Linked DNA regions of Homo sapiens: regions 1 and 2 are each linked to region 3. Evidence: promoter capture Hi-C in 16 types of primary human blood cells and fetal thymus (Javierre and others, 2016). All regions are on one chromosome and are shown on one strand. The core of a region is centred on a gene start or on the middle of the fragment in contact, and the rest is flanking DNA. Distances in the headings are between cores, read along the strand shown.

What was found. Contacts are between HindIII fragments. The CHiCAGO score rates a contact against its expected background, and 5 or more counts as called.
Region 1: a fragment that was not itself captured here is called in contact with the fragment with the promoter of PICK1 in region 3 in 3 of 17 cell types (endothelial precursors, M0 macrophages and total B cells); the score reaches 5.8 in endothelial precursors.
Region 2: a fragment that was not itself captured here is called in contact with the fragment with the promoter of PICK1 in region 3 in 1 of 17 cell types (endothelial precursors); the score reaches 6.0 in endothelial precursors.

The regions. Positions count from the first base shown.
Region 1 is chr22:38,401,471-38,404,170 of GRCh38, forward strand. No RefSeq gene overlaps it. Among named protein-coding and RNA genes, the nearest start is that of TPTEP2-CSNK1E, 3.9 kb to the left of the region's middle. RefSeq lists enhancers at 2,042-2,543, 2,544-2,700 and a cis regulatory region at 2,670-2,700. The HindIII fragment of the contact is 2,632 bases long and covers 105-2,700 here.
Region 2 is chr22:38,423,491-38,426,190 of GRCh38, forward strand. It overlaps LOC105373030 (a long non-coding RNA gene), which reads right to left and starts at 728. Exons shown (of 5, transcript XR_938254.4): 1 at 352-728. LOC101927183 (a long non-coding RNA gene) reads left to right here and starts at 788. Exons shown (of 3, transcript XR_938252.3): 1 at 788-933; 2 at 1,323-1,482. The HindIII fragment of the contact is 1,005 bases long and covers 937-1,941 here.
Region 3 is chr22:38,056,041-38,058,740 of GRCh38, forward strand. PICK1 (protein interacting with PRKCA 1) reads left to right here and starts at 1,364. Exons shown (of 13, transcript NM_012407.4): 1 at 1,364-1,547; 2 at 1,713-1,810. The coding sequence starts at 1,770. RefSeq lists enhancers at 816-1,441, 1,138-1,197, 1,442-2,065. The HindIII fragment of the contact is 5,557 bases long and covers 1-2,091 here.

The DNA.
Region 1 (2,700 bases), core at 171-2,670, 350 kb after region 3:
AGGGTCAGCACCTTCTGCCACCTCCTGCTGCTGAGCTGTGCACCTGTCCCGCAGTTAACTTTCTCTGAGCTGAGTCAACCTGAGCCCACCTGTGGGGAGCCCAAAGCTTGGTGGAGACAGATGCCAGCTGGGGCCCTTTGTTGGGAGAAGCTAAAGGACCTGGTGACTGCATGTGGGGGCAAGAAAAGGAAGACTCCAAGGGTTTGCTCAGGACTCTGGCCCAGGAAATGGGGGACTGTGGGACTGGAAGGGGCCTGGTGGGGAGCAGCAGGGGGTGCTGAGCTTGTTTGGCACCCTCTGAGCTGGAGAAGTGTGTGGAGGCTGGGAGAGGGGCCCAGAGGGACTGGAGGTATAGACAAGACATGCTCCCAGCTTCCCTGGGTCGCAGGCCAGGCACTATTTGATAGATGAGATCATCGAGTTCCAGGGAGGAAGGAGAGCGGGCCATGTCACCAAGGTCACCCAGTGATGAGCATCCCTGCCGACAGGAGTCCAGCTATCCCAGTCCCTCCACAGTCCCTGGGACTTTGCTGCTGAGGGGCTCGGGCTCTCCGGGCGGGAGTCCCAAAGACAGGAACAGGGCAGACTTAGAGCCCACATGGAGGCTGATTCTTTGGGCGGCCTTGGGCAAGTCTCTTCACCTTTCTGAGGCTCAGTTGCCGCACCTGTGGGTGTGAAATGCCTCCTTCCATAAGGGTTGGAAGGATTAAACTAGAGTTTATTTTTATTTTTTATTTATTTATTTATTTTAATGTCATAGCGCTGGACCCAGCAGCAGGTATTTAGTAAGCCCGGCGGGTGGTGAGCATGTCCTCCCCTTCCCCTTCTGGCTGAAGCAGTTAGGAAGGCTGCCTGGAGGAGGCAGGCCTTGAAGGTAAGGGCTGATTCAGAGAGACTCAGAATGAGCACAGGAGAGACTGCCGGGCTCCCCCTGGCCCCGGGGCCCCTGAACACAGGCCAAGGGCTGTGGACCTTCTGTTGTCACAGCTGCCCATCCAGGCCCCACAGCACTGGAACCGTAGCCAGAGAGAGCTCTGCCTGAGAATGGGACAAGAAAACAAGCCCAGCCGGGCGCGGTGGCTCGAGCCTGTAATCCCAGCACTTTGGGAGGCCGAGGTGGGCAGATCACGAGGTCAAGAGATCAAGACCATCCTGGCCAACATGGTGAAACCACATCTCTACTAAAAATACAAAAATTAGCTGGGTGTGGTGGTGCTTGCCTATAGTCCCAGCTACTCGGGAAGCTGAGGCAGGAGAATCGCTTGAACCTGGGAGGCGGAGGTTGCAGTGAGCTGAGATCATGCCACTGCACTCCAGCCTGGGTGAAAAAAAGAAAAGAAAAGAAGGAAGGAAGGAAAGAAAGAGAGAAGAAAGAAAAGAAGGAAGGAAGGAAGGAAGAAAGGAAGGAAAGAAAAAAAAAGAAAAGAAAAGAAAAAAGAAAAGAGAGAGAAGCCCTGATTGCCACCAGCAGCTCATACCGATTGGCCCCAAGCCTGGCCAGCGAATGTTCAAAAAGCCTCCCTGACCCCATTGCATCTGCTCTAGGCAAAGTCTTGTTTTCTGGAAGGAAAGCAGCATTTATTAAAGACACTGCTCTGCTCTCACGCTTGCATGAGCCTCTTGCCCATGACGTTGCTGCCCTGAGATGCAAGTACCATTACTACCCTCAGGGAAGGAGAGGTCTTGCCGAACCCAGCATCTTGACTGCAGAGCTGGGGCTCTAACCACTGGGCTGCTGCCTTTTGTAAATGAATGGCTCCCCATCTCCTGCGAGCTCCTGAGGGCAGAGCGGAGTCTCCCCTGTGCCTGGCATGGGCCCTGCATTCAGCAGCCTCCTCAGGAATTTTGAGTAAGTGAATAAAGACATGTAAGGGTGACAGTTCAGTTTCAGAGTGACCCAGAGGCATCGCCCTAAGATGCAAAGATGCAGTGGATCTGAACAGTTGGAGGCGGAATCACCTGGGAATGTATAGAGTAGCTTCCAGAAGGACACACAAGGGACCAGGCACGGTGGCTCATACCTGTAATCCCAGCATTTTGGGAGGCCAAGGCGGGCAGATCACCTGAGGTCAGGAGTTGGAGACCATCCTGGCCAACATGGCGAAAACCGTCTCTACTAAAAATACAAAAAATAGCCGGGCATGGTGGTGCACGCCTGTTAGCCCATTTACTCAGGAGGCTGAGGCAGGAGAATTGTTTGAACCTGGGAGGCGGAGGCTGCAGAGAGCCAAGATCACGCCACTGCACTCCAGCCTGAGCAACAGAGTGAGACTCTGTCTCAAAAAAAAAAAAAAAAAAAGGACACACAAGGAATTGGCACCGGGGGTTGTGTCTGGGAATGGGGGTGGGAGGGAGACATACTTTTCTGCTTGAATGTCTGTGTTACATATTATAATGTGGTATCATTATAATGCGTCACCACGCGCAGGTCCATGAATGAATGCGGAAGTCAGTCGTCACCCGGGAGCTCCCTGGGCATGTGGACTCCTGGGCTGCAGCCCCAAAGGGAGGAAGCAGCAGGGCTATGGGTGGCAGGGGCCAGGATGAGCTCCTGGGTGATTCTGTCACAGGTGGCCCTGGACCACACTTAGGAACAAAATCGCCAGCTGGGTCCTCTTCCCACCGGCCACCCAGCCAGGCTCATTTGCATGATCTTTTGCATATATTTGCATGACTTCCCTGGTTCCAAATAAAGCCTGT
Region 2 (2,700 bases), core at 189-2,688, 370 kb after region 3:
CCTGGGGGGACCTTGGAACGCCCCATGTTGCTCTGGATGGTGGATGATGGGCCCTCTTGGGGGTAACCCCACATGTACCCCTTCCCCACCCTGCATCCGGGCCTCTCGCACATCTTAGAGGAGGGTAGACATCCCCTAAGACGTGCTCTAGGTGGAGGCTTCTGAGTCTGGGAGCACCTGAGCCTGAATCCTCTTCAGTTACTGCTCGTAGCCCAGGAAGCCGTGGCATCCTGGGGATGTGGTGGGAGGAGTGGGGAGACCTGGCGAGACCCACCCAGGGCCTGCAGGGCTGGATAGAGGGACATCTCTCATGAGCCTCCAGGGTCAGGATTGAGACCCTGGGGTACTCACCTGACAGAAGGGGACCAGGGGTCCTTCCAGAATGTGGGCAGATGCGCCACTGAATTTCCTTCTTGCTGAGCGGCCCCCACAGGCTCTTCGGTGGGGGTGGGGGCCAAAGGCCACAGGTGCACTCTGGGAAATCTGGGAGGGCACAGAGGAGGAAAGGAAGCAGCCCCTCCCCCTCATTGAGCCCCCACCTGGGAGAGGATGGAGTGAAGGAGAAGCAGGCTCCCGGGCCTCTGACTGTCCTCACTTTGTTTCCAGCCAGCCCCCTGGTTCTCTGGGCCTCTATTTATTTCCTCATCAGTAAAAGGAGGCCATAATCCTTGTCCTGGCTTCCTCTTGGAGTTTCGTAAGAGTTCAATGAACCCAAGGACGTGAAAGGTGTTATGCAAATGAGAGACATTATGAGTTATCTATTGGGAGGCTTGGATCCTGAGCTTGGCTCTGTCTCCAGGAAAGAGGCCTCAAGTTTCCTTCTGCAGCAGCGCAGCATACGGGGTGCACAGTGATCCACCCAAACGGCAGCTATGCTGCCGGGGCTGGTGAGACGTGGTCATTCACAAGGCAGCTCGCTGTGCTGCACAGCAGGTAAGCTTGCCTGCTGGTTCCCTGTTTCTAGAGGCAGCTGGCACCTTTGTGTGGAAGATCCCTGGGACCCAGAAGGGTGCCTTCTGCTTCCTTTCAGCCTGGGGCACACAGTCAGCCTGTAGAGTAGAAGTCGGGTGGGAGGAACCCTCAAACTCCAAGGCTCTGGGATAGATGACCAACTATGGCCACAGCTCCCTCCTGCTCGGCATGTCCTTGGCAATGTGACTTTGCCTCTTTCCCAAAAGGTGGAAACTAATTTCCCACCCTTTGAATCTGGGCTGGCCTCGTGACCTGGACTCTGGCCGATAGACTGCAGTGGAAATGATGTTATCCAAGTTCAAGGGGCTAGGCCTCCGGAGACCTTGCAGCTTCTACCTTTGCCCTCGTAGGTTGCTGCCCGGAGTCGCCATGAAGGAATGTGATGCAGCCTATTGGAGGAGAACCAAACCCCACCACCACCCCAGAAAGCCATACCAGCTGCCGACATGTACATGGGCTCATCGGGGGTTTTCCAGGCCCACTGATGTTCCAGCTGAGCACAGCTGCCGGGTAAGCCCAGGAGAAATCAGCTAGGAACCCCAGCCCACCCACAGGACCCTAAGAGAGGATGCGTCATTGGTCTCTGTTTTGTGCTGGCTGGTTATAGAGCATAGGCTAACCGAAGGCAGAGAAGGGAAGGGACTTACCCGAGGTCCCACAGAGAGCAGAGACCAAGCCTGTCTTGGTTAAGTCTGTGACCAGGTTTCCTGGCCCCTGTGCCCTTCCCATCAGTGTCCTGCCGCCAGCTCTACCAGCGGTGTGTGGATCTGCATGTATGTAGGGAGGTGCGGATCGGGTGGGCCCTTCCCACTTCCACCTGAGTTAGGAAGGGTTGGCTGACGTCCACACAGGGCTGTCCTGCCCATCATTGCAGGCGGGAGGGATGGTTAATCCCATTCTGCAGAGGATGAAACTGAGGCCAAGAGCTGACAGTCACACAGCTACTAGGTAACAAAGCTCTGACATCAAAGCTTTTGGTTCTTTGATGCCAACTCCAGATCCTTCTATTGACTCGCCGGAAGGAGAATGGCAGGTGGTAAAGTTCCCTCCAAGGGTCAGTCACTCAGAAAGGGCCACATACACAGGCACACACATAACACACAGGCACACACATGACACACAGGCACACACACGACACACACAGGCACAATTACATGTGTGCTTGCTCACTCTCTTTCTCTCCTTCTCACCCCTCCATCTTCAACCAGCCTACCCCTAATGGACCATGTACTTTATTAAAAATATATAGTTACGGCTGGGTGCGGTGACTCACACTTGTAATCCCAGCACTTTGGGAGGCCAAGGTGGGTGGATCACCTGAGGTCAGGAGTTCGAGACCAGCCTGGCCAACATGGTGAAACCCCATCTTTACTAAAAATACAAAACTTAGCTGAGTATGGTGGCTCATGCCTGTAATCTCAGCTACTCAGGAGGCTGAGGCAGGAGAATCGCTCGAACCTGGGAAGCGGAGGTTGCAGTGAGCCGAGATTGCTCCATTGCACTCCAGCATGGGCAACAAGAGCAAAACTCCGTCTCAAGAAAAAAAAATAATAATAAAAAATAAAAAAAAAATATATATATATATATATATATATGGTTACAAACTCTGTTGTCAATCTGGGCTGGGCCCGGGGCTGGAGGGACTGCAGGGAGGGAGGGATGGTCCCTCATCCCACCCCTCAGAGTCCCTCCTCTGCACCCAAACCCAACACCATCCAAGGGCCAAGG
Region 3 (2,700 bases), core at 114-2,613:
CACCTGGCCTTAGACTGCTGCTTTTTGAAACCAAAATTCTGGCCTGGAAACAGAGCTTGGTTTTCCCAGCCCCAGCCCTGCCGCTATGATACCAGAGGAAGAGGCTTCCCAGGGCCTCCGTTTCCTTGCCTGCACAATGTGGCTGGCAAGATTTGGTCTTCTCTCACAGGGTGGTGGTGAGCTTTCAAATCCTGTGAAAGTGATCTCACAGGAGAGCAGTGGACACGTGGGAAGGCTGTTATTGTCACGGCATTCTGCACATCTGTCCGGACTCAATTAGCCACCTAAGGAGAGAGTAGGGCGGGGCTTCCACCGGCCGTGGGATATGTGGATAATCATCCTTCTGTATCTTTCTTCCATGGCTCCTGGGGCAGCTGGGGAAGCAAGCTGGATGGGCCTGGCCCCATGCTGCCGGATGAGGTGGATGCCTGGCTGTGGCTCTGGGAGAGCCAACCTCCCCCAGGGAACCCACTTTACACAATAGCAGTGGCAGCAGAGGCTGGCGAGGAGACAAGATTCGGACTCTGGGGAGCACTGATAGCATTTCCCGAGCCTCAGGTACATGCGGACCGTGACCCTCCCTGGGACCCCAGGGGGGCTGCTCCTCAGGACTAAGGAAGGAGGAGGGGGTGTGAGAAACCTTTCACCATATACCATAGAAAGCATTTACCTCAATGGCCTTGGTTTACATATGGGGAAACTGAGGCACATAAAGGGAAGGGAGCATGTCCAGTCTGTCCTTAATAGCAAGACCCACTGAATACACCTCTCCTGGCTCTCTGTTTAGTGTTTGGACGTTCAAAGATCCCTAGACTAGGCGGCGGGAGTTTCAGGGCCACGATCCAGATCTTACACCAACTGTGTGTGGCCCCGCACAAAATCACTCCCCGCTCTTTGGCACTTAAGTTGGCGAAACTGGGATGGGCTGGGACCTCAAAGGGCCATTCTAGTAGGGGAGTCACAGGCCCAGGTGGTGAAGGGGTGAAAGGGCATGATGTCTTGGGGTTTATAGTCCACTGAGCCTCGCCGGAGGTAACCCCGGCTCAGGGATGCTTTCGTTGCCATGGCAACCGCCGGGCCGGCGCGGGCCCCTGAGTGCAGCTGAGGAAGCTGGGACAAACCCTGCCCTTCCCAAGATGGCGGCGGCGGCAGGGCAAAGGGCGGGGTTAGACGCTGTCAGCCTGTCCAGACCGTTCCTCTGTTTTCGCTTGTTCCTACTAACAGCGAGCTTCCGCCAATACTTGTTCTCGTTCTTGGTTCCGAGCGTCCCGGGAGCCGGGAAGGGAAGGATTGTCTGCAGGGATTGGAGCAAATATCCAGTGGGGGGAAAGCCGGGACTTCCGCGTCTTGCCGGAAGTGACGTGACAATCGCGGCCACCGCCAGGTGGAACGGCAGGTGGGTTCAGGTACCAGCCTGGCCGGGACCCGGCTGTGGGACCAACGCTTCCGGTGAGCGACAGAGGCAGCTCCCCAGGGCCTGGAGACCCGTGGGGCGGACTCTGGGATCTGAGCCTATCGCCCTGGCCTGGAGCCCCCCTTTGTACCTAGTAAGAATCACCTACCCAGCCCCCCACCCGGAGACTGTCCCATCCCACTCCAGAGGGAAGAGGAGGGCACTGCTGTCCCGTATGAGGTGGTGGAGGGAGGGGTGGCGTTGGCATTTAGGCACTTGGGTTCCTTAAATCCTATGCTCCTTTCTCTCCCGGATCCAGTTCCCCATTCCCCTACCGAGCTGGGCAGTTAGCCAGCCCACTCCAACTCTCGGAACCATGTTTGCAGACTTGGATTATGACATCGAAGAGGATAAACTGTGAGTATTTTATTCCCCCAAGTTCCAGCAGTATAGGAGCCCCAAGTTCCTCATTTCCCTGGACTTCCCAGTCCCACAGACCCTTGCTTCTCAGCGGTGGATCAGTTGTTGTACTGAAGCAGCAATGGACCCTGCTCTCCCAGGAGCTCACTATTTGTAGGGGGCTGTGGACAGTTAAAGGGATAATCACAGCTCAGTGCCATAAGGGCACTATTAGCATGACTTGGTGACAAGAAGAGCAAAGCAGATGGAGCAGTGCTTCTGCTGGGATGGTCAAGGAAAGCTTCATGGAGGACGTAGCAATTGAACCAGGTTTTGAAGGTTGAATAGGAATATTGTAGACACCCTTCCTTCCCAACATAGGTTGTTAGTAGGACAGATTTTCCCATTAGAATATATCCTCTTTCAGATCAAGGAGTGGGTGCAATGCCTTTCTCTATGCTCAGCACTTAGTAAGGGACTTGACGTCAGTAGGTTGTTAGCGAATGTTTTTTGAATGAATAAGTGAATCAGCGTGAGTACTTATCATAAAACACCAGTCAATGCTAATTTATAGTGGAAACCGAGAGGTAATCGAGCAGTTGAGAGGTGGGAGGTGGACAGTTTAATAGAGGAAGACTCCCTGGAGTAGGTGGCCATCATACTACATAGATGCCTGATAAGGTGACAAGGACAGAACCTGGCTCAAATCTCAGAGATCGAATAAATGAAAGGGAAGGGGGACCTATTTTTATGGAGTGCCTGCTATGGACTGGGTTGCTGTTAGTGCCCTCCATGCATGGTTAGAAGAACTCTGATAAGGGTGCTCATCCACATTTTATGGATGAGGAAATTGAGATGCACAGAGGCTGACTTACCCAAGTCCCATAGCTGGCCAGGCACGGTGGCTC